Regions from separate parts of the Homo sapiens genome. Here regions 2, 3, 4 and 5 are each linked to region 1. The links are contacts of gene promoters, found by promoter capture Hi-C in blood cells and fetal thymus (Javierre and others, 2016). All regions are on one chromosome and are shown on one strand. Each heading gives the region's core, a stretch centred on a gene start or on the middle of the fragment in contact. The rest is flanking DNA. Distances are from core to core; before and after follow the strand shown. Region 1 holds the start of SUCLG2 (succinate-CoA ligase GDP-forming subunit beta). Region 2 has its middle 21 kb from the start of KBTBD8. Region 3 overlaps KBTBD8 (kelch repeat and BTB domain containing 8). Region 4 has its middle 48 kb from the start of KBTBD8. Region 5 has its middle 110 kb from the start of KBTBD8.

Region 1 (5,692 bases), core at 1,576-4,075:
GTTCTGTACCTCACTTCTGATTTCTGTAAGTCATTTCCCTTTTTTCCTCTATAAATCTTCTTCCACCACGTGGCTGCGCTGGAGTCTCTGTGAATCCACTGTGATTCTGGGAGCTGCCCGATTGGCGAACCGTTCATTGCTCAATTAAACTCCTTTACATTTAATTTAGCTGAAGTTTTTCTTTCATCAATGGAGATGATGGAAAGAGTGCAGTTTTTCTGAGTAGAATACAGACTAATAAATGTAGGATGGAGTTAGACCTTGCCACTTTGCCACCATCGTGACAATAATTGATTTAAACAATCATCATCATCCTTATCATCAAAAGATGCTACATCTAGTGGGTAAAACTATGTCTCGAAATGGGCTAGAAATTATATTAAAATAAAAATCCTCAGCTCCCCCACTTTCCAAAGAGAGAGATTAGGAAAGAAGCTAGTAGCAACAGCTGTCTACTTATGTCACATTGTACCTTTTTTCATGATCATATGCTCAAGAATGAGTAAGGTTAAAAAAAAAAATCTAAAATAGTGCTTAATTTGGGGGTGGGTGGAAGGGATGTGAATCTCATCTCTTATCAGACCTGCCACCTCTGGCAAGTTACTTAACCTCTGTGCACCTCAGTTTTCTCTTCTGCAAAATGGGGATTGTACACTTCTACTCATTTAAAACTTTGCTATGAAGACTAAACAAGTTTATATTTGTCTAATGCTTGGCACACATTCAGTAACTTTGCTGTTGTTTTTATTATATGCACATTGCTTAGACTCGCGTAAACTCTGTGAAAGGGAAATAATCTTGGGACTCCCAAATCACTAAGGTAAAGGGAAAAGTTAAGGTGGGAACTGCTTAGGGCAAACCTGCCTCCCATTCTATTCAAAGTCATCCCTCTGCTCACAGAGATAGACGCACAGCTGATTGCTTCCTTTGGAAAGGCCAATCAGAAACCCAAAAGAATGCAACCCTTTGTGTCTTATCTACCCATAACCTAGAAGCCCCTCCTTGCTTCCAGTTGTCTCGCTTTTCTGGACCAAACCAATGTACATTTTACATATATTGATGTCTCATATCTCCCTAAAATGTATAAAACCAAGCTGTGTCCTCCACCACACCTTGGGCACATGTCAGGACCTCCTGAGGCTGTGTCACAGGCACGTGTCCTTAACTGTGGCCAAATAAACTTCTTAAATTGATTGAGACCTGTGTCAGGTATTTGGGGTTCACAGCTCCAAATGAATGTTGCTTTTATCACTCTGATTACTGGGCTTAAAATCCTCCAATAGCTTTGTGTCCGGAATTGGTTCCTTCCCGTGGGTTCTTAATCGTCTCGCTGACTTCCAGAATGAAACTGCAGACCCTCGCGGTAAAGATGGCGTGACCAGAATTTGTTCCTGCAGATGTTCAAATGTATCTGGGGTTTCTTCCTTCCGGTGGGTTCGTGGTCTCGCTGACTTCAGGAGTGAAGCCGCAGACTTCACAGTGAGTGTTACAGCTCTTAAAGGTGGCCCGTCCGGAGTTGTTTGTTCCTGCCTGTGGGTTCGTGGTCTCGCTGACTTCACGAATGAAGCTGCAGACCTTTGCAGTGAGTGTTACAGCCCTCGAAGGTGGGGCATACGGAGTTGTTCATTCCTCCCAGTGGGTTCGCAGTCTCCCTGACCTCAGGAGTGAAACTGCAAACCTTTGTGGTGAGTGTTATAGCTCATAAGGATAGTGCGGACCCAAACAGTGAACAGCAGCAAGAGCTACTGCAAAAAGCAAAAGCACAAAGCAACCACAACCTGGAAGGAGACCCCAACTAGGGGCCACTACTGGCGCCGGTGTCCAGCTTTTATTCCCTTATTTGGCCCCACCCTCATCCTGCTGATTGGTCCATTTTACAGAGTGCCAATTGGTCCATTTTACAGAGTGCTGATTGGTCCCTTTTTAAAGAGTGCTGATTGGTGCATTTACAAACGTTTAGCTAGACACAGAGCGCTGATTGGTGCGTTTTTACAGAGTGCCGATTGGTGTGTTTACAAACCTTTAGCCAGACACAGAGCACTGATTGGTGCATTTACAATCCTTTAGCTAACAGAAAAGTTCTCCAAGTCCCCACCTGATTAGCTAGACACAGAGGGCTGGCTGGTGTATTTACAAACCTTTAGCTAGACACAGAGCGCTGATTGGTGCATTTACAATCATTTAGCTAGACAGAGAAGTTCTCCAAGTCCCCAACCGACCCACCCGGCTTCATCTCTCAGCTTTACATTGATTTTAGGTTAAGGATAGAACAAAACAAAACACCCACAACTCCTTAAGGGATGGAGAGCCTCCAATGGCCTCTCCTTGACTCACCTGAAGCCCTGGGCTGCAGGAACCTCACCTGTCTCTATTCGTTAAAGTCTCAGCTCAAACACCACTGTCCCAGATAGGCCTCGTGACCGCAGGACTAGACCACGGTTCTCTGCGGAGGGCGTCAGCTCCGTGAGCCACCCTTCCAGCACCCACTGCCATGGCGAATATTTGCTTGTTTGGCCATCCAGGGACTGTTTGAGCCCCAAGACCGCAGGGCTCGGGGTCTGTCTTTGCTCAGGACGATAACCTGGGGACTGGACAGTAGGCCCTCAGGCCTTGGGACCGCTCAAAGTGAACCGGGGCCGGGTGGGGGACCCAGGGCTCTGCAGCCTTAAGAACGCCTGTGCCCCCGGGACGCAGGGGTCAGGCCCGGCCCGGCCCAGACCGCCTCTGCCTCCTCCTCCTTTTCCTCCCCGCGCCCGCTTCTCCTCTGACCCCTCCTCCCGCTGCTCCTCCTCCGCCTCCTTCCCCTGCCCGCGCCCGCCCTACTGCCCCGTGCCGAGTTTCCTGTTTAAGATGGCGTCCCCCGTAGCAGCGCAGGCCGGGAAGCTTCTGCGAGCCCTAGCGCTGCGGCCCCGCTTCCTGGCGGCCGGGTCCCAGGTGAGCGTGGGGGCAGGAGCTGCGGGCGCCAGCAGCGGCGCCGGCCTGCCCGGGCTTCCCTCGCCCCCTGCTACTCTTGGTCTCCGCCTGACCCCCTGCGCGGCCCCTCGGGCGCCCCACTTCGGGAGGTGACGCGGCGCCGGGTCCAGGCGCAGCAGGGAACCCCGCTCCAGTGTGGGGCAGGGGCGGCGCGGCGGCAGCCCCGGGTGCCTCGGGGTATGAGCGACCCAACGCACTAGAGTCTCCGCTGTCTGCCCGCGCAGACTCATGGCGAAGGCGCTGAAGCAGGCGCTGGACGCAAGTTTAAGAAAAGTTTCTTGGACCGGGTTTTGGAGCCCTGAGGTTTTATTGTCAGCTCTACTAATTCTGCTTTTCAAACTTCTGGCACTAACCCTGAGCACGTTTAGACCACGTGATAAACATGCCTGGAAACCCGTTTCAGCCCAACTAGGAACTCACCCCCTAGGGTGAACTTCCTGCAGGCTACCTGCTTTTGCAGACTTTTAATGTGCCTGAGTTGGTCAAATCCGTGGGTCAAGGAGAAAAATGGGAAACGATCTTTCTCCTCTTTCCAATGAAAAATCAGGGCTGTCACTAAAACGCATTAGACCATTGACCCTGTCCATGTCCTCCTTGTTGATGGAGAATGAAATCAAAGAGGGTCAGTGGTGGGCTGGATAGCGATTGGAACTTGGCCTCTAGCAGATTTTTACCTTCTGCAGATGGCAAGCGTTAAAATAGTCAGAAGGACTTCAGGAAAGTTTTGAGTTGGTGATGACTCTTGTAGAAATCACTCAACCACTGAACTGGTTAGTCTCCGTAGACTATCTCTCTTCCCTTTTAAAGAAAGCACAGTCTGGGATTCAGCCACAGCAGAGTTAATGACCTTGCCTATTTCCCCATTTTTAATTGATGAGAGGCAAATTATCACTCATACAATTTTAACCAGGATGTGCATAGTATAGTTTTTTAGAAAATTTAAAAAATAGTGATTAATGATTTTTTGAGTTCCTCTAAACTTTGGTTATGACATCTGTGAGCTATTTTTACCCCTCTCCTTTCATTTCCTGCCTCCCCATTTCTCTGTTATTGTTAATGTAAATTTAAAAGGTGCTAATACTTACTACTGTAATATTCTTAATAGGTGCTTGACAGTATAGTGAGGTAGCAAAAGGAATGGCAGTTTTGTCTAATTAAAACTCACTAATAACTGTTGTAATAGAGTAAGGAGAATAGCTCTAGGAGATGAAGTCCTATTCATTATTTAAGTGTTAGAAAAAACAAGAACTAGGGTGCTTACCATGAGTGTAGACTTGAATTGATGAGAAACATGGGGCCCAGGGCAGTGAAAACTCATGAATTGTACAGAGAAACTGAAAATGCAGAGTGTTTAGCTGAAATATGTGAAGCCTACTTCCCTAACCAAGAAATAAGAGGCTGAACGCAACACAGGAGAAAATCTGGTTGGGGAGAGATACTCTTGGTTTGTCAAGAAAACTGGGTAAAAAGATCTGTTAGCACGCCCCATCTGGTTACTGTGATTTACATATTTGTGGATGATGTGTTTTTCTGTAAATTCTTAGAAGGTAAAAGTAGGTTTTTTTAAAGATAGAAAGGTACACAGTGTCCAAGAACTGGAAATGGACATTAGCAATCATTTAGTCCAGCCAGCTCATTTCATGGGTAGAGAAATTGAGGCCTAAAGAAGTTCAATGACATATTCAACGATACAGTGAGAGTTTGTGGCATTCCAGAGTAAAGGCTTACCTTTACGTTTCCGTTACACCATGCTGTTTCCTGGTGAGTATATACTTCCTCATGAAAATATATTATATCAACATGCAAATTAATCTGCATGCCAGTAGTAACTATATAACATCCAAGTCATTAGCACCACTGACACATTTTTATTTTTTTCTTTATGACCATCTTAGAATTGTCCATAAAAATGGTGAGTATTGCTATTTTCAAATTCTTGGGTGCTTCCTATGATCTGTTTCATGTACACTGATTTGATATTACGTTTCCATAGTCCCTTGCCCGTGGCAGACATTGCAGTTAAACATGGCCCACTTCTCTCATCATACTTAAGAATCCTCACCAAGTGTCTCAGAAATCTGTTGCCACTCTTGGCCCAGACCTATTTTATACCACCAGGCCTTGTGAAAAACTGTTGTCTGTACAGAAATAAAAGACCCAGTTTCTGCTTAGAGAAATAACTTTAACTGGTCTCTCAAAGATACCCATAGAATGACATTTTGTCTACCTCCTCCCTATGGTTAAATTTAACATTTGACACATATTCCTGATGCTTAGTGTCATTGAAGTTTTTTTTTTTTTTTCACCTTTGCTGTTAGCTTTACTGTTTTGACTTTTGATTGATAGTACGTCCTTAAAGGGTCCACTTTAGTCATTTCTTATTTTTCATATAGTTTTTATTCAGCCCATACCATTTGGCAGGACTGTTGTAGGCCCTGGGGTTTGGGGATGGTGAATGAGGCAGGCAGAGTCTTTGGCCACGTGATACTTTATTTTAATGGAGGTGGGAGAGAGTGAGCCAGTACACATATAACCAATAATGAAAATGATTTCAGCCAATGACAGATTCTGTGAAGAAAATCAGTCAGGGTCATGGGATGGAGAATGGATTGCTTCACAGCAGGGTAGTTTAGACTGGATGATCAGAGGAGACCTATTTGATATGGTGTGTTTTTGATTGGCATAATTTTTTAAACTGAAATATAAGACATACTGAAAA
Region 2 (5,692 bases), core at 2,034-4,533, 680 kb after region 1:
ATGTACACCTACTTCATATTTGTGGAATTAATAGATAATTAGAGTAACCTTGGAACCATAAGGAATGATTAATGATTACTGAAGAAATGCTATACGTCCTACAAATAAAAGGAAGTTTCACAAAGACATGAAAGGAAAAAAATGTGGAGAAGAGTAGGCCACATTAACATTATTTTATGGGTTCTAAGTGCTCTGTTTTACTTCCAGGCTTGGAGAAACAAATGTCTTTAGGAGAACAAACTTTTTGGGAAGGAATGACTGCCATGCAATGCTCTGAGCACATTTGCCTGGGTCCTTAAAGTGCAGCAGTTGGCAGGGCTCCTTTGGTGGGAAGGGTCCTTGCGGGAGAGTTCGGAGACTTGGATCCTTACTCTGACTCAGAGCTCTGCAACTTCCCACATATACTTCAATCTCTCTGAATACTGTTCTAGAATGAGGGCAGTATAATCTCTAACCTCCTTTCCAGCTCTCAACTTTATTCAGTCATTTATTCAGCACATATTTATTGAGCGCTCACTGCATTCCAGACACTGTGCTAAGTACTTGTAGAGGTATTAATAAAAACGAAACAAAATCAGAGTAGGACATAGTTCCTCATCTGAAAATAAACATCTGAATCCTATTGGGGATGAGGAAGGGGTAGGAGCAGGACACTGTTAAGGAAGCCTTTGTTTTGAATCTACCTTTACAAATAGGTATATAAATGTGTGTGTGTGTGTGTGTGTGTGTGTGTGTCTGTGTGTGTGTGTTAAAATCACCTTTCACCTAAGACAGCCAAAAGGAATATTATCACTTTATTCATTGTGCTCATACTATGTTTAGCACATTAAAAAGCAGTTAGAGAGGCCGGGCGCAGTGGTTCATGCCTGTAATCCCAGCAATTTGGAAGGCCGAGGCAGGCGGATCACTTGAGGTCAGGAGTTTGAGACCAGCCTAGCCAACATGATGAAACCTCGTCTCTACTAATAATACAAAAATTAGCCAGGCATGGTGGTGTGTGCCTGTAATCCCAGCTACTCAGGAGGCTGAAGCAGGAGAATCGCTTGAACCCAGGAGGCGGAGGTTGCAGTGAGCCGAGATCGCACCACTGAACTCCAGCCTGGGTGACAGAGTAAGACTATGTCTCAAAAAAAAAAATCATTTAGAGAAATATAGTATCTGTCTACAAGAACTCATAAGAATTTGAGTGAAATAATGAATATTTTTACATGTGTAGGGATGAGGACCTAGTTGGGGGATAAATTTCCTGTGTCTCATATTTGAATCCTTTATTACATCTTGGTTGGTCTCTGTCCTTTTTTTGCTATGATTGTTTACGTTTTTATTCCCCAAATGGACAGAGTGTAATTCTAAGATTCTTAAATTCCCTTGTAATAAGAGGGAGAGAAGAATGTTCACAGTCTCGCCTAGGCTTCCCACCAGGTGCCAAAACCCAAACCTTCAATTAATGTTGACATAAAACTAGACCGAGACACCCACTAGTCAAATACCATAATGTAAACTTTGCCAGTGCTTTAAATCAGTCTGCAAATTTTTAAATCCTAACATAGTTTCCTTTCCTTCATTTATTACTGAGTCCTTCTGTATTCATAGACCTTCTCTTAATAAAAACAGCTAACACGTGCCAGACGTTTGCTGCATGCCAGGATCTTCGTAAAGCACCTTCTATACATTACGTAACTTGTAATCCTTACCAAATTACTAAGAAGGAGGCACCATTAAATAAATGGGAAATTCATTGTCTAGGGCAGCATGACAATAGTAATAGGGCACATACCCAGGGAGGTGGCAAAGTCTATCATTTTGAAATTATGTAACAATAAAATATAAAGTTTCACTTTATGTACATCTGAAGTCACAACAACCTGGCTTGCAGTAGACAGGGTATCATTCTGCTAAGATGCCCTCCTTCAGGCCTTATTTACCCACTTGCTGGGAGTAAAATGGGCTGACTGATCTCAGGTCAGTGTCTCTCCAGATTTTGCATCAGCTGAAGAGAGCTGCCCTGCTGCAGACCATACCTCCTTCCCTTCAAGAACTGGAAGAACTGGTCAAAATGGGTATGAAAACCCAGTGCCTTTGCCTTAACATTGGACATCCTAAAAGAGATATCTCAGCTTCAGAGCATCCTTCAGGGTTGACTGGAGCCTTTGTTTTAACTGCATCCTTTTCCCTACCTGTAAATATCCCAACACCACTCCTTAATAAGCTTTTTTTTTTTTTTTTTTTTTAAAGAGGGAATCTCACTCAGTCACCCAGGCTGGAGTGCAGTGGGGCAATCTCTGCTCACTGCAACCTCTGCCTCCCGGGTTCAGGTGATTCTCCTGCTTCATCCTCCCAAGTAGCTGGGATTACAGGTGCACGCCACCACACCCAGCTAATTTTTTGTATTTTTAGTAGAGACAGGGTTTCACCATGTTGGCCAGGCTCGTCTCAAATTCCTGACCTCAAGTGATCCACCAGCCTCTTCCTCCCAAAGTGCGAAGATTACAGGAGTGAGCCACGTGCCCAGCCCTTAAGCCTCTTGAATGCTCATCTCTACGTAGTATCTGCTTCCCAGGAACCCAAGCAAACCCAGCCAGGAATCCAAAATTTGTCAAGAATCATGTAATTTCAAAGCTTGGTTAGCTAAGTGTTTATAAACTATGTGAATGAATGAGTGATTGAATCAGTGAACTGTCTACAAGGAAGTCTGTCTTTAGCCAGTAAATGAAACATATTTCATCCTTTGCCTGGGTCAGTCTTAGAGTATCTAAGGGCTTTAGGAACATACTTCTTGCATAAAATGTGTTCACAGTGTTAGGAGTTTACATACATTATCTCATTTTATTCTTATAACAATCCTATGAGGAAGGTACTGTTTTTCCTCCATTTTGCACGTAAAGAAACTGAGGCTAAGAGAGGTTAATATCTTATCAAAGATAAGAAAGTGAAATCCAGAGCTGGAATTTGAACTCTAGTCATTTTGGCCTTACAATCCTTGCTTTAAAACCACCATGCTAGGCCCAGTGTGGTAGCTCACACCTGTAATCCCGGCATTTTGGGAGACCAAGACAGGAGGATTGCTTGAGGCCAGGAGTTCAAGGCCAGCCTGGGCAACATAGAAAGACCCTGTCTGTATAATTTTTTTTAAAATTAGCCAGGTGTGGTGGCACACACTTATAGTTCCAGCTATTTGGGAGGCTGAGGCAGGAGAATTACTTGAGCCCAGGAGTCTGAGGCTGAAGCAATCCATAATTGCACCACTGCACTCCATCCTGAGCAACAAAGCTAGACCCTATCTCAAATAAAACAAACAAACAAGCAAAACAACAAAAGCAAACCAAAAAACCCACCATGCTATGTTATCTCACAGATTAATATATCCTGGCTTCTTCCACAATCCTGTACATATAGAAATAAATATACATGCTCCTTGACTTATGATGGGGTTACGTCCTGACAAACCCATCAAAAAAAATATTGTAAATCAAAAATGCATTAAATACACCTAACCTACTGAACATCATAGCATAGCATAGCTTACCTTAAACATGCTCAGAACCCTTACAGTAGCCTACAGTTGGGCAAAATCATCTAAGACAAAGCCAATTTTATAATAAAATATTGAATATCTCATATAATTTATTGACTACAGCAATGATGTAAAAAGTCAGAATGGTTGTGTGGGTACACAAAGTATAGTTTATACATAATGTTGCTGACTTTTACACCGTTGTAAAGTCAAAAAATTGTAAGCCAAACCATTATAAGTTAGGGTCTGTGTGTAAATGCTTTTTACTTGATTCATTGACTTGACAGTGCCTGTATAAGTTCATTCACACGTTGCTATAAAGAAATACCTGAGACTGGGTAACGTATAATGAAAAGAGGTTTAATTGGCTCATGGTTCTGCAGGCTGGATAGGAAGCATGGTGCTGGCATCTGCTCAGCCTCAGGAAGCTTACAATCATGGTGGAAGGTGACGAGAAGCAGGCAAGTCACATGGCTGCAGCAGGATCAAGAGGGAGAGCCAATGGGCGGTGCAACACACTTTTTAACAGCCAGATCTCACGAGAACTCAGTCACTATTATGAGAACAGCACCACGTGGAGGGTGCTAAACCATTCATGAAAAACGCATCCATGATCGAATCACCTCCCTCCAGGCCCCATCTCCAACATTGGGGATTATAATTCAACATGAGATTTGGTTGGCATACTGATCCAAACCATATCAGTGCCTAAAACAAACTTTTCCCGTAAGCATTCAAAAATGACCTTAGGCCAACTGGAACCCTGCATGGAAACTCTACCAATTGCTCTCCTTTACCTGAGATACAGGTACAGTCGAGGTTCCATGGGAACCTGTATCTCAGGCCCAGAAAGGGAAGAGAACATCATACTACAAAGCATTTACTGGTCAATTGAGTGGGTAAGAACAGTTTTTTCAATTAGAAATGTTCATGGAAAAGAGAAGAACACTTTCTTACATTTACAGAGGATTATTTTGTGTGTAGATTTCCCAATCAATATTTTAAAGATTGACTTTCCATGTCATCAGAAGAATAATTACTAGACACACTGACACCTGATGTTCAATTTTGAACCGAGATGAATTGTAAATGTCAATTAATATTGTATTGTATAGAATCACAAGCTTTCAACTTAATTCAATACATATTGAGCTTATATAAGACATAATGGAGATAAGATGGTGAAGACCCAATCTTGACATTGAGGAGATTATATTGTAAGATGATGAGGACACTCACATATATTTTTAACACAGATACAGTGTGATAAACAGAGAGGGCAGATATAAACCAAGGACTGTGGAAGGAACAATGCAGAAGAGACTTATTGGGCAAGGATGAGAGACAAAACCTTTGTTTTGTAGGCTGATTGCCTGAAACACACTTCTGAATAGTCACTCCTCACCTCAAAAACTTTCAAGAGCTTCCTATTGCCTACAAATACAGCCTCAACCCCCTCACATGGCCTTCAAGACCCTTGTCTGTTGAGCCACAATTCTTGAAGCATAGTGATATAGTTTGTATATTTGTCCCCGCCCAAATTTTATGTTAAAATGTAATCCCCAGTGTTGGAGGTGGGGCCTGGTGGGAAGTGATTGGGTCATGGGGGCAGATCCCTCATGAATGGCTTAGTGCTGTCCTCATGGTAGTGATAGTGAGTTCTCAGGAGATCAGGTCATTTAAAAGTGTGTGGCACCTCCCCCACCCCACTCTCTCCTTTTCTCACCGTGTAATGTGCCTGCCCCCACTTTGCCTTCCGCCATGAATACTAGTGCCCTGAGGTCTCCCCAGAAGCTAAGCAATTTTGGTGCTATGCTTTTACAGCTTGCAGAACTGTGGGCCAATTAAACTACTTCTTCTTTTTTTAAAATAAATTATCCAGTCTCGGGTATTTCTTTATAGCAACACAAGAAAGGCCTAATGCATGTAGGGTGATCATCTTATCCTCCTTTTCCCAAGACTTCCCCAGTTTTTGCTGACCGGAAGTTCTGCTTCCCCAGAAAACCCTTCAGTCCCAGGTAAAGCAAGACAAGTGATTGTTCTAACTACACATTTTAGTGTGTGATGAGGCCAGACTGAGCCTAGCCAGAGTAAGCCACCCTCTGTTCATTCTGACTTTGCCTTCTTTCTCACTTCTGAGCTGTCCTTCCTGCCTCATCTCCTTCCCCCAGCCCTGTA
Region 3 (5,692 bases), core at 1,415-3,914, 640 kb after region 1:
AAAAGGATCTATTAAATCTCATTTCTAAAAAACTAGCCAATAGAAAATGTTCTGTCTATCCATGATAAGGATAATTTAAAATTATTACATTGTAATTTTCTATTTAGTTTTAGTAGCCTGGGAAAAAAAGTCTTAAAATGATTGATTTTTTTAACTTATATAATTTTAATTTGGTGCAAGAAATATGGATTATTAGGTACTCAAGAGTCAACATTCACTGAACTACATGTCAAATAATCCCATGGCCGTATAAATTATAAATAAAAGATACCTAAATATGATTAAGTATATAGGTTTTTAAAAGTGAGACTTTTTAGCTTATTTTTTAATTGTTAAAAAACATTATACATATAAAAGATGGCATAAGATATTTATGCATAACTGAAGAATCATTCAATCAAAAATATGTATTAGAAGCTTATTATAGGGGATTCCACATTTAGCACTGAAAATGTAAAGATCCTGGATGTTGTCATTCCTAACCTTGGAAGAAAAAGGTATTCAAACTGACAATCAATGACTTTTATTAGATCCATCAGAGAAATTAGGCTGCAGGGCAAATGTTACCCTGGATTAGAGGTGAATTCAGAGTCACAGTCCAGATCTGCTAACCTTGACCAGAAGTAACCAGAGCCGTAAACTGTAAGAACACTTAAATGGTCATTTTTGATGAATCGCTGAGGCTGAACATGGACTCCCATGAAAGTGGAAAACTCCTGGGAACTTCAGTCTTTTGGGGCCCCTACGCTTCTGTGGATTTTACCAACAGGCACTCTACCAGGTTCTCATGGCAAAGATCTGAGACAAACCTCCTAGTGGCTCTGACTAGGGGACAGGAAGAGTAATGATCATGAAATACACCCAGAACCTTTTCCATTTAAAAAGCATACTCTCCACGGAAAAACATTTTGGCAGAGTTCAACAAAAGCAGGGGGAAGAGCATTCCTCCCATCCCAAACCTCTCTAACCTTCTCTTCTCACCTAAAGGAAAAAGGATTTAATCAACATGGGTCAGGGCTTCAAAGAAATAAAATTGGGAATGGCACAGCCAGAAAGAGGATGGAGAGGGGAAAACCAAAAGCTGTACCACTAGAGAAACACCTGTGAAGATCACAGCCCCAAGACACAGGCCCACCAAACCACTGATATTTAATTAGAAGCTACTCACTTTACAAAGTTGAAGCAAAACACCCACTAACCTAGCATTCTAGATCCAGCAAAATTATCCTTGAAACATGAGAAATAAAGACTTTTTCAAACAAAAATCTGAAGGAATTCATGACCTGCAGATCTGTCTTGCAAGCAATGCCCAATAAAAGAAGTTATTTGGGCAGAAGAAAATTGAAACAGAACAGAAACTTAGATCTGCCTAAATAAATGAATACTGAAGGAATAAGTGAAGATGAAGTAAAATATCTTATTTTTTAAATATCAATTGATCTAAAAGTATGACTTTAATCATAACAATGTATTGCATGGTTATAGCATATGGATAACTAAAATGAATGACAGCAATGTCATGAGGGATCAGAGGGGAAAATTGGGAACTTTGTTCTAAGATACCTACACTACACACGAAGCAGTATAGTGTTATTTAAAGGTGGACTTAGATTAGTTTTGAAATGTATATTGTAAGTCTAATGCAACCACTGAAAAAAAAATTAAAGTATAATTGAAGTGCTAAGAGGAGATAAAATAGAATCCTATATAAAATGCTCAGTCAAAACCAGAGAAAGCAGGAAAATAGGTGAAAAAAAGAAACAAAGAAGAAGGGCAACAAATAGAAAACAATAACCAATATGTTAAATATTAACCCAACTATATCAGTACTCACTTTAAATGCAATGCTGGTCTAAACATACCAGTATTCTCACAATGGATATTAAAATAAGTCCCAACTGTAAGTTGTCTACAAGAAAGCCCTTTTAAGTATAAAGATTAGGATAGGTTAAAAGAGAAGGGATGGAGAAAGATAAATGAAGCAAACAGTAATTAAAAGAAAACTTGAGTGGCTATGTTAATTTCAAACAGAGAAGACTTCAGAAAAAAGATTATCAAGGATAAAGAGAAGCAATTACATAATTATGAAAGGGTATATTCCCCAAGAAGACATGATAAAAATATTTTGTACTAAGAAAATGAAAATACTAAATAAAATTTGTGGGATTCTACAAAAGAAATACTTAAAGGAAAATTTATAGCATTAAATGCATATATTAGGAAAAGAAGGCCAGTCACAGTGGCTCATGCCTATAATCCCAGCACTTTGGAAGACTGAGGCAGGCAGAACACTTGAGCCCAGGAGTTTGAGATCAGCTTGGGCAACATGGTGAAACCCCGTATTAACAAAAAAAAAAAAAAAAAAAAAAAAAAAAAATGAAAATTAGCTGGTCACAGTGGCGTGCGCCTGTAGTCCCAGCTACTCAGGAGGCTGAGGTGGGAGGATCTCTTGAGCCGTGGAGGTGACTGCAGTGAGCCAAGATTGCGTCACTGCACTCCAGCCTGGGCAGAGTAAGGCCCTGTCTCAAAAAAAAGAAAAGAAATAGAAAGATGAGTTATTAATACTTAAAGCAACCAGAAGAAAAAAAACTATAAAAATTAGAACAGAAATCAATGAAACCGAAAACACAAAACAATAGAGAAAATTCATTAGAACTAAACCTGGTTTTTTTTTTTTTTGAAAAGACCAATAAAATTGGTAATCCTTTAGGCTCCAAGACTTAACTGAAAATTCATTTCTTCCCACAAGCATTCATTGAGTGCCTACTATGTGCTAGGCATCAATCTAAAGTGCAACAGTGAATTAAAATAAATTCGTTGCCTTTGTGGAGTGTACATTTCAATGGGGGAAGACACATATGGAAAATAAAGCAGAAAAATAAAGCAGGAGGTATGATGGGGGTGGGGTTGGATGATCTTATTTTACAAAATGTGATCAGAGAAGGCCTCTCCAGTAAGGTGATGTTTTAATAAAAAAGAAAGTGAGTGAGTTGTCAAGATCTATCCAGCAAAAGAGACAGCAAGGGCAAAGTCGCTGTGGAGGTGCTCAGCAGGTTTGAGCAACAAGCAAGGTCAGTGTGGCTAAAATAGAGCAAGCCAAGTAAATGGCAACAAGTTTGAGAGGGGTGGATCATGTAAGTATGGAGTTTGGCTGTCATATGAAGGGAGATGGGAAGCCATTGGAAGGATCTGAGCAGAAGAGAAACATGATCTGACTTGTGTTTTAAGAGGATCACTCTGAGTACTGTGTGGAGAAAAGAATAGGTTATGAGGGGTCAAGGGTGATAGAAGGAAGACCAGTCAGTGGAAACTGCATTAAGTCAGATAAGATAAGCTGGCTTAGACTAGGGTGACAGTGGTGCAAATGGTATGTGGTCTGAGTCTGGATGTATTATGAAGGAAGAAGCAACGGGACTTTCTGATGAATTAAACATGAAATACGTAAGAGATTATATAGTGTGGGCATTTGTCCCCTCCAAATCTCATGTCGAAATGTGATCCCCAGTGTTGGAAGAAGTGGGGCCTAGTGGAAGGTATTTGGATCATGGGGGTGGATTCTTCATCAATGGCTTGGTGCCCTCCCTATGGTAATGAGCGCATGTGAGATCCCATTGTTAAAGAGACAGGAACCTCCCCCAACTTTCTCTGGCTCCCTCTCTTTCCTGCTCCCGCTTCACCCTCTGCCATGAGCTAAAGCCTCCTGAGGCCTCAATCTCAGGTATTCCTTTACGGTAATGCAAAGTGGACCAACACAAAAGAGTCAAACATAACAAGATTTTAGGCCAGAACAAACAGAACAAAGAATTTACCAATATAAGTGAACTAACTTGCTTTAGAATTTAAAAAGTATTATATACATAAAGTAGTTCATTTTTTACCAGAGGACAGGTATTCAATAGATTAAAATCTCATTCCATTCTATCATGACATAAGGTATTTCATGATTTTTTACCAGATTTTAATTCTGCAACACTCACTAGTCAGATATCACTTTGCAACACTGGAAGTTTTCAATCAGAAAAGGTTTTATTATAAGAAACAATGACATCAGGTAAAAATGCAAAAAATTGTGCAATTATGGCAAAATGTTTAAAAATATCTACACATTTGCCCCCACAGGACTACAGTACTTACTACATACCTGAGCACTGAACATTGAATTCCATTTTAAACTGCTTTACATAGGGAATCTGATTCCTTCATGATCACATCCATTTGTTCTCATGACCAATAAAATCAGCTTGATGCTTAAGCATCAACTTTGTAGAACAGAAAACAAAGATGGAAAATAAAGAATACAATTTCTACTTTCCTATAACATAGTTATACCCAGTCCAGTTTTCAATGTGTGACAAATATATAGGAAAGTGCTACATACATTCTTCAAATGCAAAAACAAAGTTAAAGTGGAACTGGCATTATGTTAGACCTACATTTTAATTCTGTAGTACCCATTGTGCCTTTTACTTAAGGTCTTACCACACTATGAAAATGCACCTTAAATATCTAAATATAAACCCACACATGTCACTAATCTTACTTTTCTAGGACCTCTTCTGAATCCATTTTAACAGTGGCAAAATATCCCAGCTATATAATTTAAACAAATAGTTCTTCATACAAAATTCAATATATATTCTACTCCCATAACAAATCCTAAGCCTTGCTTTTGACACACTTAACTTAGATCGTACCCTCCATACAAATTGTCATAGCCAAAAGATCAACTGTTGTGCAGGCTAAAAGAATAAATCTACTGTTGAATTAGCCACAGTATGTCATTCTCTTATATAACATACAGCCCATGTAAATTGCTAACTCAATGTTCTATGTCATGTTTTCAAGTAATACATTTTTCTAAATACACAAGATTGTCAAAAAGCGGCAGGAAATCTTATTCAACAAAGCTTTCAAAAATAAATTACATGAACATCTCTTGCAAAAAAATTGTTTTTTCTCTCTCCTCAGCAATGCAAAACTGTAAAGAATGATTTCTAAAATACACAGTAATAACTCCAAAACATCATGATGATAAAAACAAAAACAAAACAGAAGATAAAACTGGGGAGGTAAAAATGTTGACAAAGTTTATACAGAGATTACAGACATACTATCAACACCAATAAGAAGAAACCACATATCTAGCTAAGACTAGATTTTAAAATGTTAATTCTAGAAATGCTGTCCATTTTAACTTCTGCTTCAGAAAACATTCCCTACTTGTAGAGGTCTATGTAAAGCAGTTTGGAAAGTTTCTGAAAAACGAGGTATGTGATGCAAAGAGGCAATGTTTTCAATTTGTTTCACAGTATCACATTACAATTTGTGCAAGATTTTTAAAATACGAACCATGCCAGTTTGCTTTCAAGTGAATACAAATATTGTGATTGAGGGCAAAATCTGTCCTATGCTTATACCCTTTACGAATTACTCTAGGCTTAGTAAAACATGTTACTGATCCAAATGCCTGCCTTAGGTATACAAATAAGTTGGTTTATCCTTCATGTTAATATTCCTAACTGATGATTGTTAGAAATTTCATCAGTTAAATGCAAAAAATGCTTTAGTACCTAGAAAGCTATGGTTCTGTTCACTCACTCTTTTCCTTTTCAATCACCTTCAGCTAGAAGGAGGATTCCAACGTAAAAGTATTCATCACTGTTAAGTGCAAAAATGGAAAAAAAAAATGAGG
Region 4 (5,692 bases), core at 2,188-4,687, 610 kb after region 1:
GAAGGTGGGAGAGTGCAAATACAGCTCTCACAACAAGCCTATAATTAGGGGAAGTGAGAGTTGTGATATTATCTTTCACAGATTGCTTGAAAAATTATCATAATGAGGGAAATGTAAGTAAAGGTCAAGACTGAGGAAGGCTAAAATCATTTACATGAATGCTTTAGAAGAAGCTGACTTATTTTACATTGCCTACTTTTGGAAAGGAGTTGCTAAATAGAGTTTATTACTCTTCTAAAGTACAGTAACAGGAAGAAGAACAAACTGAGATATGAAGACAATTTTTTTTTATTATGAGCTGACTTTATTTTTTTATTTTTTTTATTATACTTTAAGTTTTAGGGTACATGTGCACATTGTGCAGGTTAGTTACATATGTATACATGTGCCATGCTGGTGCGCTGAATGGATTTCATTTCATGAAATTGACACAGGAAGTGAAAGTTGTAATCAGGCTATAATTATAGACCCTGGTAGTTTGCCTTTTAAGTGAATTCAGTTATGTAAAGGATACATGTGTTAATGATTTTTACGCTTCTGACAGATTACCAGCCTCCTAAGTTAAGGTGCTATATCTTTTTCAGTAATTATTACTATTCGTGACATCTTAAATAAAATACCTTTAGTTGATACAGACCAGTGGTAAAATTAACTAAAGACCAAACCAGAAAAATACACTGTGAGACAGCTTTAGAAAATGCCCTATTATTTACTTATAGAAGGTTTAACTTTACTTTTTTTTAGAAAAGAAATTCAGCCTTTTGTGATAACAATTTAAAGACATAATGTCATAGCACAGCATTCTGAAGAAGTGAATTTAACACAATTATATTATACAAGCTTGGGATTCATATTGATTTATTAGAATTATATGAAACCTATCCTCTGAAGAGCTCCAACATGCCCTAATTGAACTCCAAGAATTTGTCTGATAACTCTCTCTTGGGAAAATTAGATGAAAGCTTGCCCTAGGAGTGATTAAGAGATTTATGGGATTTATACACCAACATGAAAGCTCAGGATTTTAGGCTTGTAGTAATTGTTTCCAATCCTAAGTCCCAAAACTCTGACTCTACTATTGAGATATCTTAAAAGCTATTTCAAAATGTGCTTCAGGAGTCACACAATGTTGTTTAATTCAAACATGACTTTATACTTTTTTTGATGTGATTTATACTGTAACACACAAACACACAAACCAACTTGTTCAAAAGTGCTAAATACCAAATGTTAACACATTGGAGAGCATTAATGCCTGATCTTTCGCTGTCAGGCACAAATTTCAAAATAATATTTGCTTGGACATCTCTTTCCATACAATTGAACTTCTTATAAATGCAATATTAATTTTTTGAAATACATGTAGCTTTTCATACGTGGCTTTTTATTAATTATTCATGAGTGTGATATCTGTCACATTTGATTATACATTTTACATCAGCTTCTTTGTCTTGACAGTAATTTTTACAACATAAATAACATTTGTAAGGCTGTTCAGGTTGTAGTTATACCATCCTTAGTAATGAAACAAAATTTTGGACTTAATATGAAAAGCAAAATCCATTTTACTACTTGAAATTTTAAGTGACTCTATATTTTATAGACAAACATTGAAGTATACAAGATTTTTTTAAAACACCACTTACCATCACATTATAAGATACAGTTTAAAAGCATTTTCTACCAAAAGAATTGATTATATCTTTTTATCAACTTCTCTGAAATTTGAACACTTAATTATGTGAACAGTAGTTAGAAGTATTAATGAATAAATGTAGGAAAACAATCTACCATTCTTTGTGGTGTTTCAAAATCAGTTAAGTAATCCAGTACCCAAAGAATGCAAAATGAGTGTGTTAGAAAGCTATTTGCTCCTATTTAGTGAATTAAGATTTTTCTCCCTATTGTGCAAACAAAATAACATACAAAAATCAGATGAGTCTTGAAGCTGACAAAGGACTACAACTGTCATAACTACTATTATAATGACAGCTTCTGTTTTCAAATTATCAGCTTGTCAACAGTCTATTTTTAAGTAAAAACTGTAATAAATGTGAATTTACAGGTTAAAACTAATAAATTTCTAGTTTTTGGTTTATGTATGTAAGATTCTATAGAAGATAAACTTGCAAACTGAGCTCCAATGTCATTTAAAACTTTTGAAAATTACTTTATTAAAATAATGCAAAGATAAAAATCACTAGCTTTTGGCCAAGCACGGTGGTTCACGCATGTAATCCCAGCACTTTGGGAGGCCAAGACAGGTGGATCACCTGAGGTCAGGAGTTTGAGACCAGCCTAGCCCACATGGTATAACCCCATCTCTACTAAAAATACAAGAATTAGTCAGGCATGGTGGTGCACACCTGTAACCCCGGCTACTCAAGAGGTTAAGGCAGGAAAATCATCTGAACCCAGGAGGTGGAGGTTGCAGTGAGCTGAGATTGTGCCACTGCACCCCAGCCTGGGCGACAGAGGGAGACTCCATCTCAAAGAAAAAAAAAAAAGTCACTAGCTTTCAAGTTGCAAAAGTAAAATATTAAATATATTTCAACAATCATCTCTAAGTTTTGTTTGCCTTTCTTGTTTTTGAGACTCTGAAGACCTAAAATCTAATTCTTGTTTTGAAAGCTGCATCTGCCTAAAGAGCCAATTTTAGTGCTGTCCTCTGAGCAACAGATACAAAATGGTATATATCTGTTGCTTGCAAACATGCAAATCTGCAAAATAATCTTGGCAAAATACCAAGGTTATTTTGCAGATTTGCATGTTTATGCTAACACTTCAGTGGCCTCTAAGTTTCTCCCGATACTCTGCCCACTATTTGAATTCTTTATTTTGGGGGCAGATGCTGTCATCCTTTTCAGAAGGATGTCTAAGTTATAGCTGCAAGGTCTGAATAGCTAGTCTTCCCAAAGGCATGATTAAGTCAGTCACCAAATTTAACAAAATTTTCTACTCAGGCTTCCTCCAAGGTAGAATTCTCTATTAAACAAAAAAATCTAGAAATATGAAGAAATACTCTCTTTAAACAAGATGCTCAATTTTAGAGGAAAACCTAGGGTAAATACCAGGTAAAATCGGGTATTATTCTAACTCATCTTCAGCTCTTAATGTGCCTTGTTAATTTTAACCTTAGGTTTCCTTTCAAAGCTTGAGTGATTCTCTTTCCATCTGATTCTTTTTTAAGATTTTCTAGGATTTCTTTAAATAATTAAAATCTTATCCACCATGGTCAGTTGTCAAAACCACCGTTGCCTTTGTTCTTCTCAGGCCATTTGTATAGTAATCGCATCTCAATTTCAGTCAGCCTCTTTATGCTTAAAAATTATAAAGAAAAAAAAAAAGCTTATGTGGTTTCTCAAGTGACTGGCCTTCCTTATTTCTCTGATTCTTTATATGCCTCTCACCCGACAGAAAAGAAGAGATTAAAACATCAACAGGCATCACAGTAATTCTAGCTTGTGGGAGGTGCTTCTGAGACTCCTCATTTAATTGGAATGGAATCTCATTTATTCCAAGCTTGCCTGCTCCCTTCCGTCTTCTGCCCTCTGCATGCAGGTAATTGGTCTTCAGCCACAACTTGCCCTATTTGAAAGGATCTGGGCCTCTTTGCCTAGAATTTAACTTTTCAAAAAATTTAAGCCTAAAAATATAAAAATGGTTTTAATGAAAGTGTCTCCAAAAATCTCATTAATTAAAAATACCACTCATGTATGTAGAACCTGCAAATGCCAATTTTCTCCCTCTCAGTCTGACTTCCTCCCTATTTCTCTCTTTTGACCCTTACACAATGTCAGCACTCATAGGGGTCTATAGAGGTAAGTGGTCAGGGTAGATCATTGAGGCCAGGGGAAGAGAGAAAGAAATTCAGAGTGGGAATCCTGGCCAATCCCTTATTTGCTAACTCTGTATCCTAGTCATGGATTGACTCGCCCAATTCCTGGCCCCAAGTAGCCTGGCTCACCAGATCCCTGGAGTTTTATAGCCTGGTAGATGGATTCAGAAAGTTACAAGGTTATAACTCACTGTTCTGAAGTGGCTATGAGAGCCAGAGAGGCCCAAAACCCAAAAGGACCTTACCTTTCTCGAACTGAGTATTACACAGACCCTTTTGTATTTTGGCACCATGTGGTACTGTATTCTAGGTCAATTACTTTTAAGTCAATATTGTACAATTCTGATGCCAGAAAAGAATTCTGTGCTTGGCACATAGTCCCTATGATGACTTAATAAAACAAGAATTGATGGAATGAATTAGAGCTGCCTAGAAAAGGCAAGGTATTTGCCAGATCTTATTTTGGGGGTAAGTTTTTGAATCAGTAGTACAAAATAAAATAATATAAAAAGGGATTCAGAGAAAAATCTTATTCTCACCTGTGACCATCTGTACTCACTTTCCCAGCCTCTGAACAAATAAGCACTATTACTGGTTTCTTATGTACACTTCCAAAGTTTCTGCATCTGTATACTGTCAGGCCTCTGAGCCCAAGCTAAGCCATCGTATCCCCTGTGACCTGCACATATATACCCAGAAGGCCTGAAGCAAGTGAAGAATCACAAAAGAAGTGAAAATGGCCGGTTCCTGCCTTAACTGATGACATTCCACCATTGTGATTTGTTTCTGCGCCACCTTAACTGAGCGATTAATCTTGTGAAATTCCTTCTCCTGGCCCAGAAGCTCCCCCACTGAGCACCTTGTGACCCCCGCCCCTGCCTGCAAGAGAAAAACCCCCTTTGACTGTAATTTTCCACTACCGACCCAAATCCTATAAAATGGCCCCACCCCTATCTCCCTTTGCTGACTCTCTTTTCGGACTCAGCCTGCCTGCACCCAGGTGATTAAAAAGCTTTATTGCTCACACAAAGCCTGTTTGATAGTCTCTTCACACGGACGTGCATGACATTTGGTGCTATGACTCGGATCAGGGGACCTCCCTTGGGAGATCAATCCCCTGTCCTCCTGGTCTTTGCTCCATGAGAAAGATCCACCTACAATCTCTCGTTCTCAGACCAACCAGCCCAAGTAACATCTCACCAATTTTAAATCAGGTAAGCAGCCTCTTTTTACTCTCTTCTCCAACCTCTCTCACTATCCCTCAATCTCTTTCTCCTTTCAATCTTGGTGCCATCCTTCAATCTCTCCGTTCTCTTAATTTCAGTTCTTTTCCTTCTCTGGTAGAGACAGAGGAGATGCGTTTTATCCGTGAACCCAAAAGTGGCACCGGTCACAGACTCGGGAAGACAGTCTTCCCTTGGTCATTAATCACTGCGGGGACGCATGCTTGATTATTCACCCACGTTTCAGAGGTGTCTGATCACCGCGGGGACACCTCCCTTGATCCTTCACCCTTAGTGGCAAGCACCACTTTCATGGGGGGCAAGAACCCCCCACCCCTTCTCTCCACATCTCTACCCTCTCTTTTCTCTGGGCTTGCCTCCTTCACTATAGGCAACCTTCCACCCTCCATTCCTCCTTCTTCTCCCTTAGCCTGTGTTCTCAAGAACTTAAAACCTCCTCAACTCACATCTGACCTAAAACCTAAATGACTTATTTTCTTCTGCAATGCCGCTTAACCCCAATACAAACTCCACAATGGTTCCAAATAGCCAGAAAATGGCACTTTCGATTTTTCCATCCTACAAGATCTAGATAATTCTTGTCGTAAAATGGGCAAATGGTCTGAGGTGC
Region 5 (5,692 bases), core at 1,480-3,979, 550 kb after region 1:
AAGAGTGAGATGGGGTTGGGGAATAAAAAACTACAAATATGGTGCAGTGTATACATGAGTGACGGGTGCACCAAAATCTTACAAATCACCACTAAAGAACTTATGTAACCAAATACTACCTGTACCCCAATAACTTATGGGGGGGAAAAGTTATAGCCTTAGATCCACAGCCTGCGAGGCAAGGAAAGTCTGTCTCTCAGATTCATCATTTAATTCTCAGATGTCCTCTAATTGGCCTGGCTTAGTTCACATGTCCATCTGTTAGACAAATTGTGAGCCACAGAGGCATACCTCTGTGCTAGGATATACCATGCCTATATCAGAAGAAGGTGGGATAGAATTATTTCACGTCAGGCCACCACCTTAACTTGAATCTACTCTGAGGAGCTCTTTAGAAAAAGAATTCTGTGCTGATATATATTTAAGTTTTTTTTAAGTCTAGTTTGTTTATTACAGGGTGGCTCAGAACCTTAAAGATGCTACCGTGTGTTGTGGATCTTCACGAAATGAACATGGAATGCAGCATTTAGTATTAATCTTTTTTTGTCCGAATGAGCCTGCCACTGCAAATTGATAAGACAGTTTGGTCCATACAACTTTAGAGAAACAATACTGATAGGCCATTCCCCTTCCAAATGTTATTAATAAGCACTGTCCTCCTAGATTTCTGTTTCTTATAACCAGGTTGTCTGATTAATAGAGCTATTCTGATTTATATTTTACATTTTCTCATCTGTTTAACAAATGTTTATTGGGGGCCTAGGCATGGTTCTCGGTGCTGTAGATAGCAGTAAATAAAACAGACAGCATGTGGGCCTTGGCAGAATTACATTCCAGTAGGGAGACTAACAAAAAAACAAAACAAAAAATATTCAGTAAGTCTTCACTTAATATCCTTGATAGATTCTTGGAAACTGTAACTTTAAGTGCAATTACATACAATGAAACCAGTTTTACCTAGGCTAACCTATAGCAACAGGAGTTAAGTTCCTTTGGCATATTTCTAGTCACAAAATTGCCAGACTTCTAAAGAAAGACCCGAAAGCCTTTTAATATTAAACATTGAAATTAATGTGAATTAAAGTTTTAAAAACTTCACATTTTTAAAAGATTACTCAAAACAAGTAAGATAATGATTTATCCAGTTTTTCCAGTTCAGGATCTCAGGTGGCTGGAGTCTGTCCCAGTGGCTCAAGGCACGAACCAGCCCCAGACAGGACACCAGCCCACTGTAGGGTGCACTAACACACCCACACATATTCAGATGGGGACCATTTAGACACACCCATTAACCTGACATGCACAGCCTTGGGATGTGGGAGGAAACCGGAAGACCCATAGAAAACTCACACAGACATTGGGAGAACATGCAGACTTCACAGAATCAATTACTTTTCTCATCAACATTGTAATGAAACATTGAACAAAATGGTATACTTCAAGGACCTGCCGTATAATGTGAAGCAATGATAAATGCTTCAAAGAAAAATAAAGAAGAGGGGAAAAGAGAAGAAAGGGAGAGCTAGATCCAGTATTCTGTTCATGGAAGGCTTCTCTGAGAGAATGAAACTTGAGCATAGTCCTGACTGCTACGTGGGAACCAACCACTTGGGCATCCCAGGGAGAGGGACTAGTGCATGCAAAGCTTAAGGGGTAAATACATACCAGCATGCTTGGGAAAACGCAAGAAGGCCAGTGATTAAGAGAGGTAGGAAACCTTTATTATTATCATGTGGTGGGGAAAGGGTGAAAGTTTTAAGCAAATGAGCAAGAATTTGAGTTGCTGAGCATTGCTAGGAAGACCAACTCAGCAGCTATTGGGTGCATTTTGGAGGTGGATTACAGGAAGGAGGAGCTGGGAGACCACAGTGGTTTAGGTAGTGTGGACATAAGCAAGGGCAGTGGCAGTGGAATGGAAGGGAGGCAATCACTGGGCTTCATGTTACTGGGTTGGTGTATTCTACACAGGCTTCAAGGCAGATGAAAGGTTGAGAAGCATGAGTGAAGAGCTAGACCACCTAGATCCCACTGGGAAAGATGCCTCAATCACAAATTAGGAAGTCAAGAAGACTGGTGCAAGAAGGGCTCAGAGACCAGTGGGTAGTAGAAACCATGTAGAGGCTATAAACACCCAAGGAGTTGAAGATCAAGTCACAAAGGTAAGTTAGATACAAATTGCAGGCTGAGGAGTTTGCATTTGATGCCTAGACAACTGGGAAGCCACTGAAGACACTGGACCTAAAAATGACATGATCAATGCAAATATTGGTAGCAGATGGATGCCATCTCTTCCCCAGCCTATATCAGCCCTACAATGTTCTATGTCCTACTCCCTGGAGTAGGACAAGGTACTAATCATTCATGATACCTAAATTCCAGAAGCTGCTGCTTCTGTACTCTGTAGTATTGGAAGTAAGTGAATGCTATTTCAAGCCCATTGGCCCCACAAATTAGGGCCATACTAGGAGACACTATAGCACAGTGGTATACAATGTGAACCTGGCTTGATTCCACTGTTTCGTAGCTATGTGAACCTTGCCAACCTCTCTGTGTGCCAGGTACCACATCTATAAAATGGAAATCATTATAATAGGATTTTATGACAATTAGATAAAGGAACCCATGCAGATTCCTTAGAACAGTGTCTGAAACTCTACAAAAAGAGGGTGCTGTCTTTATTCAGTAGACTTGTCTACTTATCCCCACTCTTCCTAGCTCATATCCACACCTTCCACCATAACAGAGCATCAAATAAAAACTAAGAGAGAAAGTCTAAATTGATCCTTATAACAAAGAATGGAGAGAGAAGCAAAGGGCACTAGATCTGGGGTTGGAGACATTTGCAGGAGAGAGGAACAGAATTTAATGTTTTAAAGCTGGACTTGCTGAGATAGCAGCCACTAGACACATGGTGCGTATTTAATTTTAAATTAAGTTAAATTGAAAATTCAGTACTTCAATCACACTAGCTATATTTTAAGTGTTCATGTGGCTAGTCACTCTCCCAGTGGACAGCCCAGCTCCAAAGTGTCAGATTCTACCTCATGCACGGTTCTCTACAACCTAGTCTAGTGGCTTGATAGCACATTCATTTTTTCTGAATGACATCCCATTGTCTGAATGTATCACAATTTATCCATTTACCTATTGAAGGACATCTTGGTTGCTTTCAGTTGATGTTGATTTTAAATAAGGCAGTTGTAAACATTCACACGCTGGTTTTTGTGTGGACATGGGCTTTCATATCAGTTGGGTAAACACCTAGGAGCATGAGTCTTGGAACATATGGTAAGCCTATTTTAGCTTTGCAAGAAACTGTAAAACCTCTTCCAAAATGACTATACCATTTTGCATCCACTGCAACAATAGGTGAAATTTCCTGTTGCTCTGAATCCTTGCTGGCAATTGATGTTGTCAGTTTTTTGGATTTTAATCACTCTAATAGGAATGTAGTGGTATCTTATTATTGTTTTAATTTGTACTTCTGTGATGGCAAATTATATTTAGCATCTTTTCATATGCTTCTTTGCCATCTTTATATCTTTCTTTCTCAGTTGTCTGTTTAGATCTTTTGCCCATTTTTTCATTGGCTTGTTTATTTTCTTATTGCTGAGTTTTAAGAGTTCTTGTATATTACAGATACAAGCCCTTTGTTAAATATGTTGTGTTAGGCCATTCTTGCATTGCTATAAAGAAATACCTGAGACTGAGTAACTTATAAAAGAAAATTAATTGGCTCATGGTTCTGCATGCTTTTATAAAAAGCATGGTCCTGGTATCTGCTCAGCTTCTGGGGAGGCCTCAGGAAGCTTACAAACATGGCAGAAGGCAAAGGGGGACCAGATGTTTCACATGGTAAGAACAGGAGCAAGTCGGGGACGAAGGTGCCAAACACTTTTAAATAATCAGATCTCAGGAGAACTCACTATAGTGAGGAGACCACCAAGCCATAAGGAATCCACCTTCATGACCCAAACACCTCTCACCAGGCCCCACCTCCAACATTGAGGATTACAATCCAAACTCATTATCCTGCTCCTGGCCTCACACATCTCATGTTCTTCTCACATTGCAAAATACAATCATCTCCTGCCAATAGTCCTCCAAAAGTCTCAACTCATTTCAGCATTACTCAAAAGTCCTAAGTGCAAAGTCTCATCTGAGACAAACCAAGTCTCTTCCACCTACAAGCCTGCAAAATCAAAAATAAGCTTTTTACTTCCAAGATACAAGAGGGGTACAAGAATTGGTAAACATTCCTATTCCAAAAAAGGAGAAATACACCAAAAGAAAGTAGCTATAGGCCCACACAAGTCTAAAACCCAGCAGGGCAGTCATTAAATCCTGAAGCTCCAAAATAACCTCCTTTGACTCTATGTACCACATCTAGGGAACACTGCTGCAAGGGATGGACTCCCAAAGCCCTGGGAAACCCTACCCCTGTGGCTTTTTCATGCTGAGGTTGCAAGTTGCTGGTGGCTCTACCATTCTGGGATTTGGAGGACAGTGGCCCCCTTCCCACAGCTTTACTAGACAGTGCCCCAGTGGGGACTCTGCATGGGTCCCCAACTCCACATTTCCCATCTGCACTGCCATAGTAGAGGCTCTGTGTGAGAGCTCCACCCCTACAACAGACTTCTGCCTGGACACCCAGGCTTTCCCATAAATTCTGTGAAATCTAGGCAGAGGCTTCCAGAGCTTCTTCACTCTTGCACTTTGTGAGCCTGCAGGCTTGACACCATGTGGAAACCACACAGGCTTATGGCTTGTGCCCTCCAGAGCTGTGGCCTAAGCTATAACTGGGTCCCTTTGAGCCATGGCTAAAGCTGGATTGGCCTGAATGCAGGAAGCAGTGCCCAAGGCTGCTCAGGGCTGCAGAATCCTGGGCCTGGTCAACAAAACCCTTCTTTCCTCCTAGGCCTTTGGGCCTGTGATGGGAGGGGCTGCTTCAGATGTCTCTGAAAGTCCTTCGAGGACTTTTTCCCATTGGTCTTGGCTATCAGCACTTGGCTCTTTTTAGTCATGCAAACCTCTCTAATAAGCTCCGCAGCAATTCATCCCCTCAAAAAAGCCCTTTTTTTTGCCACATGTTTAGGGTGTAAAATTTTCCAAACTTTTACACTCTGCTTCCTGTTTAAATATAACTTCCAAATTTAAGTCATTTATTTGCTCCCACATCTGAGAATAGGTTTTTAGAGGCAGCCAGGACAACTCTTAAACACTTAGAAATATCTTCTGTCAGATACCCCAAGTCATCACTCTTAAGTTCAAACTTCCTCAGTTCCCTAGGGCATGAACAGAATGCAGTCAAGCCCTTTGCTAAGGCATAACATGGGTGGTCTTTGCTCTAGTTCCCAATAAATTCCTCATTTTTATCTGAGACCTCATCAGCCTGGCCTTTGCTGTCCATATTACTATCAGCATTTTGGTCACAATCATTTACCCAGTCTTTAAGAAGTTCCAAACCTTCCCTTATCTTCCTGTCTTCCTCTGAGCACTCCACACTCTTCCAACCTCTGCCTGTTACTCCGTTCTACATTTTCAGGTCTCTTTATAGGAATACCTCACTCCTGATACCAATTTTCTGTGTTAAATCATTCTTGCATTGCTATAAAGAAATAACTGAGACTGAGTAATTTATAAAGAAGAGAGATTTAATTGGCTCATACTTCTGCAAGATTTACAGGAAGTA

What was found. Contacts are between HindIII fragments. The CHiCAGO score rates a contact against its expected background, and 5 or more counts as called.
Region 2: a fragment that was not itself captured here is called in contact with the fragment with the promoter of SUCLG2 in region 1 in 1 of 17 cell types (total B cells); the score reaches 6.0 in total B cells.
Region 3: a fragment that was not itself captured here is called in contact with the fragment with the promoter of SUCLG2 in region 1 in 1 of 17 cell types (total B cells); the score reaches 5.3 in total B cells.
Region 4: a fragment that was not itself captured here is called in contact with the fragment with the promoter of SUCLG2 in region 1 in 1 of 17 cell types (total B cells); the score reaches 6.0 in total B cells.
Region 5: a fragment that was not itself captured here is called in contact with the fragment with the promoter of SUCLG2 in region 1 in 1 of 17 cell types (M0 macrophages); the score reaches 6.2 in M0 macrophages.

Annotation. Positions count from the first base shown.
Region 1 is chr3:67,651,745-67,657,436 of GRCh38, reverse strand. It overlaps SUCLG2 (succinate-CoA ligase GDP-forming subunit beta), which reads left to right and starts at 2,825. Exons shown (of 11, transcript NM_003848.4): 1 at 2,825-2,934. The coding sequence starts at 2,851. SUCLG2-DT (SUCLG2 divergent transcript) reads right to left here and starts at 2,740. Exons shown (of 7, transcript NR_109992.1): 1 at 2,335-2,740. RefSeq lists an enhancer at 2,519-3,018 and a silencer at 2,534-3,213. The HindIII fragment of the contact is 5,512 bases long and covers 1-2,885 here.
Region 2 is chr3:66,974,502-66,980,193 of GRCh38, reverse strand. No RefSeq gene overlaps it. Among named protein-coding and RNA genes, the nearest start is that of KBTBD8, 21 kb to the left of the region's middle. The HindIII fragment of the contact is 1,323 bases long and covers 2,622-3,944 here.
Region 3 is chr3:67,009,526-67,015,217 of GRCh38, reverse strand. It overlaps KBTBD8 (kelch repeat and BTB domain containing 8), which reads right to left. Exons shown (of 4, transcript NM_032505.3): 4 at 4,008-5,692. Among named protein-coding and RNA genes, the nearest start is that of KBTBD8, 14 kb to the right of the region's middle. The HindIII fragment of the contact is 4,490 bases long and covers 420-4,909 here.
Region 4 is chr3:67,042,965-67,048,656 of GRCh38, reverse strand. No RefSeq gene overlaps it. Among named protein-coding and RNA genes, the nearest start is that of KBTBD8, 48 kb to the right of the region's middle. RefSeq lists a silencer at 497-556. The HindIII fragment of the contact is 174 bases long and covers 3,351-3,524 here.
Region 5 is chr3:67,103,006-67,108,697 of GRCh38, reverse strand. No RefSeq gene overlaps it. Among named protein-coding and RNA genes, the nearest start is that of KBTBD8, 110 kb to the right of the region's middle. The HindIII fragment of the contact is 2,164 bases long and covers 1,648-3,811 here.